Linked DNA regions of Homo sapiens: regions 1, 2 and 4 are each linked to region 3. Evidence: promoter capture Hi-C in 16 types of primary human blood cells and fetal thymus (Javierre and others, 2016). All regions are on one chromosome and are shown on one strand. The core of a region is centred on a gene start or on the middle of the fragment in contact, and the rest is flanking DNA. Distances in the headings are between cores, read along the strand shown. Region 1 overlaps COL4A3 (collagen type IV alpha 3 chain). Region 2 overlaps COL4A4 (collagen type IV alpha 4 chain). Region 3 holds the start of CCL20 (C-C motif chemokine ligand 20). Region 4 overlaps COL4A3 (collagen type IV alpha 3 chain).

Evidence for each region. The method cuts DNA at HindIII sites, captures the fragments that hold promoters and counts their contacts. A CHiCAGO score of 5 or more calls a contact.
Region 1: a contact is called between a fragment that was not itself captured here and the fragment with the promoter of CCL20 in region 3, in 1 of 17 cell types (naive CD4 T cells). The highest score is 5.4, in naive CD4 T cells.
Region 2: a contact is called between a fragment that was not itself captured here and the fragment with the promoter of CCL20 in region 3, in 1 of 17 cell types (naive B cells). The highest score is 5.2, in naive B cells.
Region 4: a fragment that was not itself captured here is called in contact with the fragment with the promoter of CCL20 in region 3 in 1 of 17 cell types (naive B cells); the score reaches 5.1 in naive B cells.

What each region holds. Positions count from the first base shown.
Region 1 is chr2:227,166,296-227,169,669 of GRCh38, forward strand. All of the region lies in intron 1 of COL4A3 (collagen type IV alpha 3 chain), which reads left to right. Among named protein-coding and RNA genes, the nearest start is that of COL4A3, 3.4 kb to the left of the region's middle. The HindIII fragment of the contact is 197 bases long and covers 1,841-2,037 here.
Region 2 is chr2:227,138,774-227,142,101 of GRCh38, forward strand. COL4A4 (collagen type IV alpha 4 chain) reads right to left here. Exons shown (of 48, transcript NM_000092.5): 4 at 1,388-1,465. Among named protein-coding and RNA genes, the nearest start is that of COL4A4, 24 kb to the right of the region's middle. The HindIII fragment of the contact is 186 bases long and covers 1,657-1,842 here.
Region 3 is chr2:227,812,258-227,815,397 of GRCh38, forward strand. It overlaps CCL20 (C-C motif chemokine ligand 20), which reads left to right and starts at 1,585. Exons shown (of 4, transcript NM_004591.3): 1 at 1,585-1,730. The coding sequence starts at 1,655. The HindIII fragment of the contact is 16,817 bases long and covers 1-3,140 here.
Region 4 is chr2:227,273,324-227,276,242 of GRCh38, forward strand. All of the region lies in intron 26 of COL4A3 (collagen type IV alpha 3 chain), which reads left to right. All of the region lies in intron 4 of MFF-DT (MFF divergent transcript), which reads right to left. Among named protein-coding and RNA genes, the nearest start is that of MFF-DT, 50 kb to the right of the region's middle. The HindIII fragment of the contact is 3,156 bases long and covers 1-2,919 here.

The DNA.
Region 1 (3,374 bases), core at 689-3,188, 650 kb before region 3:
GCATGATAGATAAAACTCAGTGGGGATTATCTACCAGCTTTAACCAGGACAAATAAATCCAAAAAAGCAAAATCCTAAAGGAAATGTGTGTTGTGGGGAAGCCTGGAGAAGAGATCCAGAGCAGGGTTTGCACATGTTTCTGAATTTAGAAGAACAGGAATGAGATTGGGAAGGGGTGGAAGAATTGTACTTATGTGAGGATCAGCCTGAAAAAGTAATGCTTGGGGACCATGCAAACTCTAGTTATACCATTTTCAATTCTGTTGTTACATTCCTTTGTTATTTTTACATGTAAACTTTTCTGTTTTGAGTTTGGCCAAATCTTGGTGACTTCTTGCTGAAATTAATCCATTTGTATTGTTTTTCTCATCACTTGAAGTAAGTCTTTCATTAACAAGTTTTCAGGATTATCATTTCCAGTGTACCTGCTGGGTTAGAGAGAAAATATGCCAGTAAAATAATGAAATGTGCCTTCATCTTGTAGAAAAAGGAATCACAACGTTCACTGATAATCGGGCAATGTGCACCAACATGGCTCCCTTCACAGAGAAACTCTGCTGTTGGGCAAGGCTGTTGACCACTCTGAGCCTCAGTTTTCTCATGTGTAAAATGAGAGTTGAAACCCCAGTGGGGCCAGCAGGTGAAGTAAGGAGTAAGGCAATGGGGTAAGAGAGACTCTTCAGAACCTAGTTGTTAGCATGCTAGAATTCAAGCCCAATTGTGCCAGCATCACTTCAAGAGAGAAGTTGGGAATCCAGTTTTTATTAGAAACTTCTCAAATTCTAAATATTAGCAACTAAGCCAAAACTTTACAAAAACATAGTGTGGGCCAAACAATGTATAAGTGAGAGCTAAATGTAACTTTGGAGCCATTATATTTTATTATTTTTGTTCTACTCCAGTTAAGGATGTGTTTCGCTCCAATTTATTCAGTTTTACTTTAGCATTTCTCAAAACAGGGAAATAGCAGCGGTGTTGACTCTACATGCTAAGTTTGTTTAGACGGGGTGGAACTGTCCACCCACACAATTTGGACTGATGTGCCGAGAATTAAATACCTCTGCTACTTTGCACAGGCATCCAGTTCCAGGCTGGCTGCCCAGCGCATCCCCAGGTTTTATAGCTGTCAGGGCCCAGCTCACCCACTTGAAATAGGGCGGCACCTTGTTGTTGTCTCAGGCAATAGACCTGGGAGTGGAGGTATAGAAAGCCCCTTCTTTGATTTCTGGATAAGGTGATGTTCACACATTAAGATATCATGGTTTATCCTTCTTCTTGCCTTAGCATTCCAGACAGGGCAGCAATATGAGAAGCAAATGTCAAAACGTGAAAAACACCTACATTTGGGGAGGATGCCTTCTCACCGGGCTTCATTTTCAAATTTAAGCACTTTCAGTTAAATTAGAAAACAAAAAGTAATGGAACAGACACCAACTTATCTATCCCTGAGATTAAGCAAGTATTAATATACTTTGACTTGTTTGTTCTCAGATTTCTACCTTTAGGAAAAAAAAAATCTGAATACAGAAAGTCATACACACATTCTTTACTCCCTCTTCCATCCCAAAAAGTTTATGTATGTAATTTCCCTGCACAGTTTTGTGTGTGTGTGTCTGTTCTCCGTAAAAAATAAGTATTATTGTTTTGTGGTCTTTCATATGTGATAAATAGTTTCACATTACACGTATCTATTGGAGCTTGCTTTTTATCACTCCATATTATGTTTTTGGATTTTATCCATGTTGGTACATATAGATATGATGTATTTGTAGTAATAGCTGCTGCATAGTATCTAGTTATATAAAGTATGATTCATTTTTCCATCTCCCTAAACAAAGTAAGCTTGTCTTTATATTTTCATTTTATAAAGTTGCAATGCATATTTTGGTATATGCACCACTGTGACAACTAGAATTTGAATTCCTAAGTGGTTCGTAGAGAAAACAAATTTAAATATATTAGGAATTGACAAGTTCATCTGCAAAAGGGTTGTACCAACAATGTACCAGAGTGCCTGTTTCCCTATGTCTTTGGCAAAGCTTGGTGTGCTTAGATGTTAATGGTGTGAAATGAGATCTTGTTTTGACCAGTGAGTTTGTAAACTTTTTTCTTTTTTAATTGGCCCTTTATATTTCCTTCAGTGTGAACTGCATAGTGCAACTTTCTGTCTGTTTATCTATTGTGAACTTTGCCTTTTTGTTGCTAATTAATTAGAAGTTATTTATATATTTGGATACAAAACTTTTGTCATTAAAGTGTATAGCAAATATTTTATTCCAATCTTTGGTTTATCTTTGAGTTATTGGTGCCTTAATGTATAATACTGTTTTCACTATAATCTCAAACTGATTTTGTTTTGACATTTTGTCTTTTGTACCTTGTCAAAATTTTTTTTTCCTTTCCTGGGATTATAGGAATGTTCTCCTACATTTAAAAAAAGTTTCATAGTTTAGCTCTTTTACAGTTAGATCTCTTAATCCTGTAATTATTTTCTGAATTATGAGATCTACTTTTATCTTTTTCCATGTAGATGACAAATCGTCCCAACATTTTCAATCAAATAGTATATTCTTTCCTTCTTTTTTTTCTTTTTTTTATTTTATTATTATTATACTTTAAGTTTTAGGGTACATGTGCACAATGTGCAGGTTAGTTACATATGTATACATGTGCCATGCTGGTGTGCTGCACCCATTAACTCGTCATTTAGCATTAGGTATATCTCCTAAAGCTATCCCTCCCGCCTCCCCCCACCCCACAACAGTCCCCAGAGTGTGATGTTCCCCTTCCTGTGTCCATGTGTTCTCATTGTTCAGTTCCCACCTATGAGTGAGAATATGCGGTGTTTGGTTTTTTGTTCTTGCGATAGTTTACTGAGAATGATGATTTCCAGTTTCATCCATGTCCCTACAAAGGACATGAACTCGTCATTTTTTATGGCTGCATAGTATTCCATGGTGTATATGTGCCACATTTTCTTAATCCAGTCTATCGTTGTTGGATATTTGGGTTGGTTCCAAGTCTTTGCTATTGTGAATAGTGCCGCAATAAACATACGTGTGCATGTGTCTTTATAGCAGCATGATTCATAATCCTTTGGGTATATACCCAGTAATGGGATGGCTGGGTCAAATGGTATTTCTAGTTCTAGATCCCTGAGGAATCGCCACACTGACTTCCACAATGGTTGAACTAGTTTACAGTCCCACCAACAGTGTAAAAGTGTTCCTATTTCTCCACATCCTCTCCAGCACCTGTTGTTTCCTGACTTTTTAATGATTGCCATTCTAACTGGTGAGAGATGGTATCTCATTGTGGTTTTGATTCGCATTTCTATGATAGCCAGTGATGGTGAGCATTTTTTCATGTGTTTT
Region 2 (3,328 bases), core at 500-2,999, 670 kb before region 3:
AATAGGCCAACAAAGGAACCCATTGCACACCTGCTGTGTAAAGATGAAGCAATACCATGAGAGAAATATGTTGTCCCTTCTCTTGTGGGTAGTGTTTTGTGTCCTTGTAGACTCCTCTTTACTGTACTGTGCTTTTTGAATGTCATGCACAGCCCCCTACAATTGACTTGAACACTGTTACAGACTGAATGTTTGTGGCCCCCAAAATTTATATGCTGAAATTCTAACCCCCAAGGTGATAGTAGGAGGAGATGGGGTATTTGGGAGGTAATTAATCAGAGCGGAGTAGTCATGAATTGGATGAATGCCCATATAAATGGGACCCCAGAGGACTCTTTCTCTCCACCATATGAGGATACAGTGAGAAGACACCATCTGCACACCAGGAAGCAGGCCTTCAGCAAGACACTGGATCTGCCAGCACCTTGTTCTTGGGGTTCCCACCCTCCTGGACTGTGAGAAATAAATTTCTCGTAAGCCACCCAGTCTATGGTATTCTGTTACAGCAGCGAGAATGGATGAGGACACATTTCAAAAGAATCATTGATCTGACTCAAAAATTGTCCCAAACTTCTATACCACACTCCTTTCTTGTGAGATTGTGGGAGTAATTGTAATTAGAGAATTGTTTGATCTAATACTTTATCACAAATGAATTAGTGGGCTGCTGTCAGAACATGGGGGAGACATTAACAAATGTTCAAGAGACCTGACAGACAGTAACCAAAGAGGTTCTTGGCTTTGCAGAACAGAGAATCTAGCGTGGTCATCAACGCAAACGTTCTGGGTGGACTTGAGCAAGACACTAACTTTCTTGGGCTTCAGTCTCCTGCACTGCAAACATGGTATCCTAAGAAGGTTCTTACGAGAAGTCAATGAGCAGAAGCATTTTGAACTCATAGAACAGTGCCTGGCACATAACAAGCATACAAAAAATATAGCTATCACTTCATTAGAACACTGTGCCACTTGTTTCAATAGCGACAATCCAAGAAAGAGTCCTGTGGTCAACTGTCTGGAAAGACCAAACAAACTTGGATTTTTTTCTACCAACTTCAGTACCTCTCAGAGCCTTTAAAATGCCATATTTCAGGATGGTGACCCAGTAGTTACCATTTCACACCAGGACCCTTCCTCCACAGGACAATTCACAAGACTAGTGTCATATAAAACAATGGGTGAATCGCAGCTTCCTAGACTATCTTCTAAGCCTGGACTGTCTAATATAGTTGAGATTGCTATTAGAATGTGAAAAACTTCGGCTGTGAAATACATAAACATTATCGAGGACTAAAATTTGCCAAGAATCTGGGATTACTTTATATTAAATATTCACAAGTTCTCAAAATTCAGGAATGCTGCCCATGTTGGTCTTTACATCACTTACCCGAGACCCCTTTTCAGGAACACAGTGGCAAACAGAGCAATCTCTTCCTCCACAAGGACCAATGTATTTCTTTCCACTCTGGAAAGTGAAGCATCTTATTTAGTATACCAGTACTCATCGTTTAACTACGTGCATAACACATACATTATAACAAGCACTCTTGGTTTACCTTTGACTCCATGAGAAGAAAAGACTAATCATGACATATAAAAAGATGAAGAACTTACACAGTAGCTTAATAATAAGGAGGGTTGATTATATGAGCAAGAAGCTTCCAAACTGAGGATGCTGAAGGAAAATAAGTATCCTTCTAAAGTCGTTTGGCTTTAACTGGAATCTTCTGCAGTTTCTCCCTTTCGGTAAGACTTAATTTATTAAGTTGTGAACAGTCTTAGAGTGTAAACTATGTGGTTAGGCAATCCATGCATAGACAGTGGAGTCTAGTTTAAATGAAAAGCTTGTTTTTTTTTCAGGGCCTGTTTTGCTTTATCTTCAAGATCAGCTACAGTGTATCTCCTCCCTCATCAAACTGTCCTTCCTAGGACAATTCTTCTGTCCCATCCTTGGGCTTAAAATTAAAATTGTTGTTCCTACAATTTGCTGAGACTCCAAGATGGTTTCTCTAATGTGTTTCTCAAACAGAAACTCCTGAACTTGAATAATTTGGACCTTTTCCCCACTTTTAGCAAACTTTCCAACACTGTCTTTAGAGCATCACACACACACACACACACACACACACACACACACACACACACACACCCTTTAGGAAGAATCAGCTCCTTGTTCTCATGAATCCTAATCACCTATATCCAGAGTCATCATCCACTTCCATATAAAAGCATAGTCCCAGAGTACTATTTCCATAGGCAGATCCCTTAACAGCAATCACCATGATGCACCTGCAATGAACATGAGCACTGAGCGTGCATTCCCAGGCTGGGCCTGCCAGTGGGGAGGGAGTGGTGGTTTAGGCCCCTGTGTAGTGGACAAATCACCTCTAGGTGCTAGGACCCAAGGGCATGGATAAGAATATCAAGAAAGCATCAGAGAAAAGGTTTGCCTGGCTCATGATCTGGCCTAGCTGTCATTGCAACATTTATACATTGGCCATACAATTTTATGATTGATCAACCTTTTTAAACTTAAGGCTGTAAACTCAAGCCTTTAGACCACTGTATGATGGGAAAACATAAAACAATAAAACTAATATTTATAGTCCCATGGAAGACATATATACATATGTATGTGTGAATGCATTGAATATATATGTGTATATGTGAATATTCATGTACGTATACATATATATGAACAGGTATATGTGTATGGGAGGGAAAAGAGTCTAATCAGCATATATTATTTTTCTTTTCACTCGCACAGTTTAGGCTTATTTTTTGGAGAAAAATATGCTCAGACACAATCCAAAAGAAAATATCTTTAAGCATTAATTTTAAAAAGACATCTTTGTAAACAATATTCTCATGGATCATTAAAAGCATACAAGAATTTGAAGCTTGACGAGAGTCAAGCGATTAGATAGTTTAAGTTTAAAAATGTATTTGAAGTTTCAGAAATATATGCCTCTTGAGTTTTGAGTAATGTTGTTATCTATAAATGCAGAAATATTAAGTTAAACACCCTGATAAGGTTAAAAAAAAAATTAAATGCCCGGGCCCAGGTCGGGACAGCATGAAAGCACTTAAAGTAACTAGATTGAATACTTGGGTTCATTTAAGGTTGGGCTTCATTACTATGTGTTCGCTGAAATATCAAAACAACTAGAGGAAAAAAAATAAGGTCAGCTGATTAGATGGCTTGATAATAAGGGCAAGTTTGTTATTATTATTTCTTTGCTTATTTTTGCCAAACATCACTGAGATGTTTGCAGCAAAACTATGTTTCAGGAAAGAATCACTTTAAAATAGATTAGTAGATTCAAAA
Region 3 (3,140 bases), core at 335-2,834:
AGAACATTCCATGTGCAACTATTCTGTTGATGTTGGATAGAGTAGTCCTTCGATGCCTGCTAAGTCTATTTGGCTTATAGTGTTGTTCAAGTCTTCTATTTTCTTGTGGATCTTCTGCCTAAATTTTATTAATTAGTGAAAATGTGGTACCAAAGCTGTCAACTTTTATTGTTAAATTTCCTATTCTGCTGGGCACGGTGGCTCATGCCTGTAATGAGGTCAGGAGTTCAGCCTGGGCAACATGGTGAAACCACGTCTCTACTAAAAATACAAAAATTCGCTGGGCGTGGTGGCACGTGCCTGTAGTCCCAGCTACTCAGGAGGCTGAGGCAGGCGAATCGCTTGAACCCAGGAGGCGGAGGTTGTAGTGAGCCGAGATGGTGCCACTGCACTCCAGCCTGGGCAACAAGAGCAAAATTCTGTCTCAAAAGAAATTATAATAATAAAATAAAATAAAATTTCCTATTCTTCCCTTCAATTCTGTCAGTTTTTGCTTTCTGTAGTTTGGGGTGCTACTGTTAGGTATATATATGGTTATAGGTTTTACATCTTCCCAATGGGTTAATTTTGTGTTACCATGAAAGTCCCTTTTTATTTCCGGTAACATTAAAAAAAAATCTATTTTGTCTGATATAGGCATCACCAACTCCAGTTCTCTTTTGTTTACTGTTTGGTATACCTTTCTTTTGATCCTTTTACTTTCAACCTATTTGGGTCTAGTGGAGAGTTCTTATACTGCCTTAGGTTAGGGATTCATATTACATTATCATCATTAGTACTGTTATTTGACATTTGCTGTGCTGACTAGCTACTGCTGATAGGTTTTCTTTCCTCAACAATTCTGAGGCTCTATATTGAGTTATATTAGTACATCATCATGGAGAGTTAAAGGTAGGTAAGGATTATTTTCTGAACTGCAATATTGATTAAAGCCATGTGAATGTATAAGATTCTTAGAAGAGTTGACATTAAATCAAGGTGAAGCTGAGGTTTGAGCCTTACTTAAAGGCTGATATTTTCCACTCTAACTGCGGACAGTACTGTAGCACTGTTATAGTACCTGCTCTGAATGTTAGTCTAGCAACTCAGGGTCTTCTTCATGACAGCTGAACCTCAACCATGTGATGGTAAATGTGTAGCAGAGTATGCCTGGCATCCCACCTGCTCCTCCTCCCCCTCCTCCTTGACTGGTTCTGGAAAGCAAATAGGGTGTAACAATAGGAGTTCTGGAATGTTCCTGTGTGGGGCTGACCTTTGTATCGCTGTTAATCCTCTATTTTCAGACACAAAAATGATTAAGTTAAAACTGGATGAAAGTCTTTTCTGGGTCACAGGGCTGAGCTGCTTTTGCTCTTTGCAAATACAAAGAATTTAACAGGATTCTCCCCTTCTCAACTTCCTGTCCCCCACCCTGACCTTCGCACCTTCCCAATATGAGGAAAAAGCAGGAAGTTTTCCTTGCGGGTTTTTTTTATGATGACATGATGGGGCCAGTTGATCAATGGGGAAAACCCCATGTGGCAACACGCCTTCTGTGTACATTCCCAATATTTGCTATAAATAGGGCCATCCCAGGCTGCTGTCAGAATATAACAGCACTCCCAAAGAACTGGGTACTCAACACTGAGCAGATCTGTTCTTTGAGCTAAAAACCATGTGCTGTACCAAGAGTTTGCTCCTGGCTGCTTTGATGTCAGTGCTGCTACTCCACCTCTGCGGCGAATCAGAAGGTAAGTGTCGCTCTTTCCGCTAGCACAGAAGAAAGACTATTTTCATTTTCCTTTTAGCCTTGAGCTCAACTGGGGGTCCCTAAGGGATGGAAAACTGTTAGGAAGTATACAAGAGGTAGTGATGGAAGTTGTCTGCCCATGGTGGAGTGGAGGAGAGAAGAGTTACTGCTGCGGATCAGGCTTTCCTCTCTGCTGTCAATCTCAGCAGATTTGGGGAGTGGTGGGCTCTTAGAGATCCCTAAACTTCAGGATAAAGCCAAAGTGATGTTTCTGGGAGTGATATAAAGTGTGTAATGTTACCAGTAGATGGGGCCATTTTGAAATGTAGAGAATCCTCCTGTGTCCCCAACTTTCGTACCTCCCAACTTAATAGTTTTGGTAAAGTTCAAAACTCATCCTTTAGAAGTAGATTATAATACCTGACATCAACATCCCCACAAGGCATGGGGGACATTGCTTGCCAACTTTAAAATAACATTAATCCCTTACCTTACAGCATGTTGTAATCTGACTCGGGAATGTCCAAGTATTGCTTTATTGCTCAATAGTCACACAACACTTTTAGCAACAGGTGCATTCCTAAAAATGCACATTGAATTTTTTTTTTTTTCTGAGGCAGGGTCTAACTTCATCACCCAGGCCAGAGTGCAGTGGCATGATTACAGCTCACTACAGCCTCAACCTCCTGGAGTCAAGTGAACCTCCAGTCTCAGCCTCTTGAATAACAGGGACCACGGCCGTGTGCCACTCACCTGGCTAATTTTTTTACATTTTTTTTTTTTTTGTAGAGACAGGGTTTCACTGTGTTGCCCAGGCTGGTCTCGAACTCCTGGAGGCAAGCAATCCTTCCTCCTTGGCCTCCCAAAGTGCTGGGATTACAGGCATGAGCCACCATGCCCAACCACATGTTGAACTTTTATGAACAAAATTAAACATTCCTATTAATTAATAGGACAATTTCAAAGTGTTTTCACTCCTATAAATCATATTTCCCTTTGTAGCTCTATTTCTCAATACTTAGTAGCCAGATAATAGATTAAAATCTGCCAATTTATTCATTTTCTGCTTTTGGAAGTTTATCTACATAAGGGTTCCTTCAAGCAGTAGGGAAGGGGCTGCTCATATTCTTGAATGATTATAGTGAACTGAAATGAAATATTGTCAATTTGTATTTCTTACTGAAGATATCCCACTTATGAGAAGTCCTGTGTTTCTCAATTCTATTATTGAACCAAAACTTCTCGGCACACAAACTGTTTTTTCAAAGAACTGTAAACTATGTTAGATTGGTTCTCAACGACCTTACAAAGGTTTCCAAGACATTGAAACTCCTCCTCTAAGTGGTTTATTCGTCATATACATGAGATTCACTAGATTTTTCACAACTTAAGGTAGTTTTATAATACCAAT
Region 4 (2,919 bases), core at 189-2,688, 540 kb before region 3:
TTTCCTAGAATATTCTATATCTATTACATACATACATATATATATATGAAATGAATAGATCCTAAGCGTTATTGCAAATTTGTTTTTTGTGGTTTTCTAGAGACAGGGTCTCACTGTGTTGCCCAGGCTGGAGTGCAGTGGCATAATTATAGTTTACTGCATCCTCAAACTTCTGGGCTTAATAGATCCTCCTGCCTGGTCTCCTGAGTAGCTGGGGCTACAGGCACGTGTCACCACGACCAGCTAATATATATTTTATTTTTATTTTTTGTAGAGACAGGATGTTGCTGTGTTGTCCAGGCTGGTCTCCTACTCCCAACCCCAAACAATCCTTGCTTCAGCCTCCCAAAGTGCTAGGATTACAGGCGTGAGCCACTGTGCGCAGCCACAAATTTGTTGATTTTGATCCATAACTCCATAGGCAGGTTACAAATAAAACTTTAAAATATCTAAGACAAATGAAGGAAAATGGTCTGATAATAGTTTAAAAGTCCAGGTAACTTTTGGGATATACATATACTGGCCGTAGTTCTGGATTCAGGAGTGTGGCTGAAGGTCAGAATAGCATGCTACTGATAGTTTTGAGCAAATAATGCCAACATGGTCATGTTTTACTTCTAAAATCACCTTAGGCTGGGCACAGTGACTCACACCTGTAATCTCAGCACTTTGGGAGGCCAAGGTGGGCAGATCACTTGAGGTCAGGAGTTCAAGACCAGCCGGGTCAACATAGCGAACCCCCATCTCTACTAAAAATACAAAAATTAGCTGAGCATGGTGGCACATACCCACAGTCCCAGCTACTTGGAAGGCTGAGGTAGGAGAATCGCTTGAACCTGGAAGGTGGAGGTTGCAGTGAGCCAAGATCGTGCTACTGCACTCCAGCCTGGGCAACAGATTGAGATACTGTCTCAAAAATAAATAAATAAATAAATAAATAAATAAATAAATTTTAAAAATCACTTTAAAGGGTAAGACCCAGTAAACCTCTAAATCATTTTGTAGTGTCTTCCCTCATCAGTAAAACTTTTTGAGTGCACAACCTTACATTATATGTTATAAATGTATGCATCATTTCTGTCCACACATGTATGTAAATCTTATTTTATGACTTTCTCTATATATTAAATAAACAAATAAATATTTATGTTTATCTGCACCTTACTTTGGAGCTGCTTTTTTTTTTTTTGTCTGAGATGGAATCTTGCTCTGTCGCCCAGGCTGGAGAGCAATGGCGCAATCTTGGCTCACTGCAACCTCCGCCTCCCAAATTCAAGTTACTCTCCTGTCTCATCCTCCCAAGTAGCTGGGATTGCAGGCACCTGCCACCATGCCAGGCGAATTTTTATATTTTTAGTAGAGATGGGGTTTCACCATGTTGGCCAGGCTGGTCTTGAACTCCTGACCTCAGGTGATCCACCTGCCTCGGCCTCCCAAAGTGCTAGGATTACAGGCATGAGCCACCATGCCTGGCCGAAGGAGGCTGCTGTTCTAATCCAGGTACTAGCAAACGGTGGTGGACCACAGTCCAAGACCAGCCCACTGCCTGATTTTGTATGATCCTCAAGCTAAGAATGGTTTTCACATTTTCAAATGATTGAAAAAAATGTTTAATGATATTTTGTGATGCATGAAAATTACATGAAATTCAAATTAGAGTATCCATAAATAAAGTTTCTTGGAACACAGCTGCACTCCTGTATGTACTGTCTCTGGCTGCTTTTATGCTACAATGGCAGAATTGAGTAGTTGGGTAGATTTCAATCACGAAGCCTAAATTTCTTACTATCTGGCCCTTTACAGCAAAAGTTTATTTAGCCCTGTTCTAATCCATCACCAAATGCTCTGTTGTTGTTGTTGTTGTTGTTGTTGTTTGAGATGGAGTCTTGCTCTGCCACCCAGGCTGCAGTGCAGTGGCGTGATCTCGGCTCACTGCAACCTATACCTCCTGGATTCAAGGGAATCTCGTGCCTCAGCCTCCTGAGTAGCTGGGATTACAGGCGCACACCACCAGGCCTGATTAATTTTTGTATTTTTAGTAGAGACGGGGTTTTACTATGTTGGCCAGGCTGGTCTTGAACTCCTGACCTCAAGTGATCCACCCGCCTTGGTCTCCCAAAGTTCTGGGATTACAGGTGTGAACCACCACACCCAGCCTCTTCTGTGATTTCTAAGTGTGAATCTTTACTAAAGGATTCCATTGTCATAAAATATATTATTACCAAAATTGTCCCATCACATACTGTAAACCTATTTTTTTCTATAAATAAATGACTATATGGACAACACTTATCACTAAACATGTTTTTAATGTTTGCCACTGTGGTCAGAATATTATCTCGTGTCCTTATCTGCTAGGTAGGCATTCTTTCCCCCGCGACAGATGAGGAACTTATCAGAGAGGTTAAGAAAAGTGTCCAGGTTTACAAACCAATGTCAGCCTTGCCCATATCAAAACTTACTGTTTTGTTCAATAGCCTTCCTGTGGAAACTAGCCACCCAATAAATAAGTATCCTATCAGTATTCACCAACGTTTAAACTTAATTCCATATTATCAATTTTTTGGAATAGGCTCTTTTCAATAGACCAGCATGTTGGGCTATTAATTTCCCTTTTAGAAAAAAAAAAAAATTGCAGCTCGCTGCCAGCGCTCATTTAATTTTACATAAACACATTCTTTGAGGCTGAAGCAAATCTGATTTTCAATGTGAAATAAAATACAATAACTGTTCTTGGAGTTATTTCTAAACAGAATTTGTCTCTAATCCTAATGTAAGAGGGTAAAGTTAGGACCGTCATCTGTGAGTTATCTCAGAGTAAACAGGAAACAGGTTAAAACAAAGTTTAGACGATTGTCTACACTTATAAATATTTGTTGATTCAATAAGAAAGTTTCTATGGGCTGGTCGTCCTTAAGC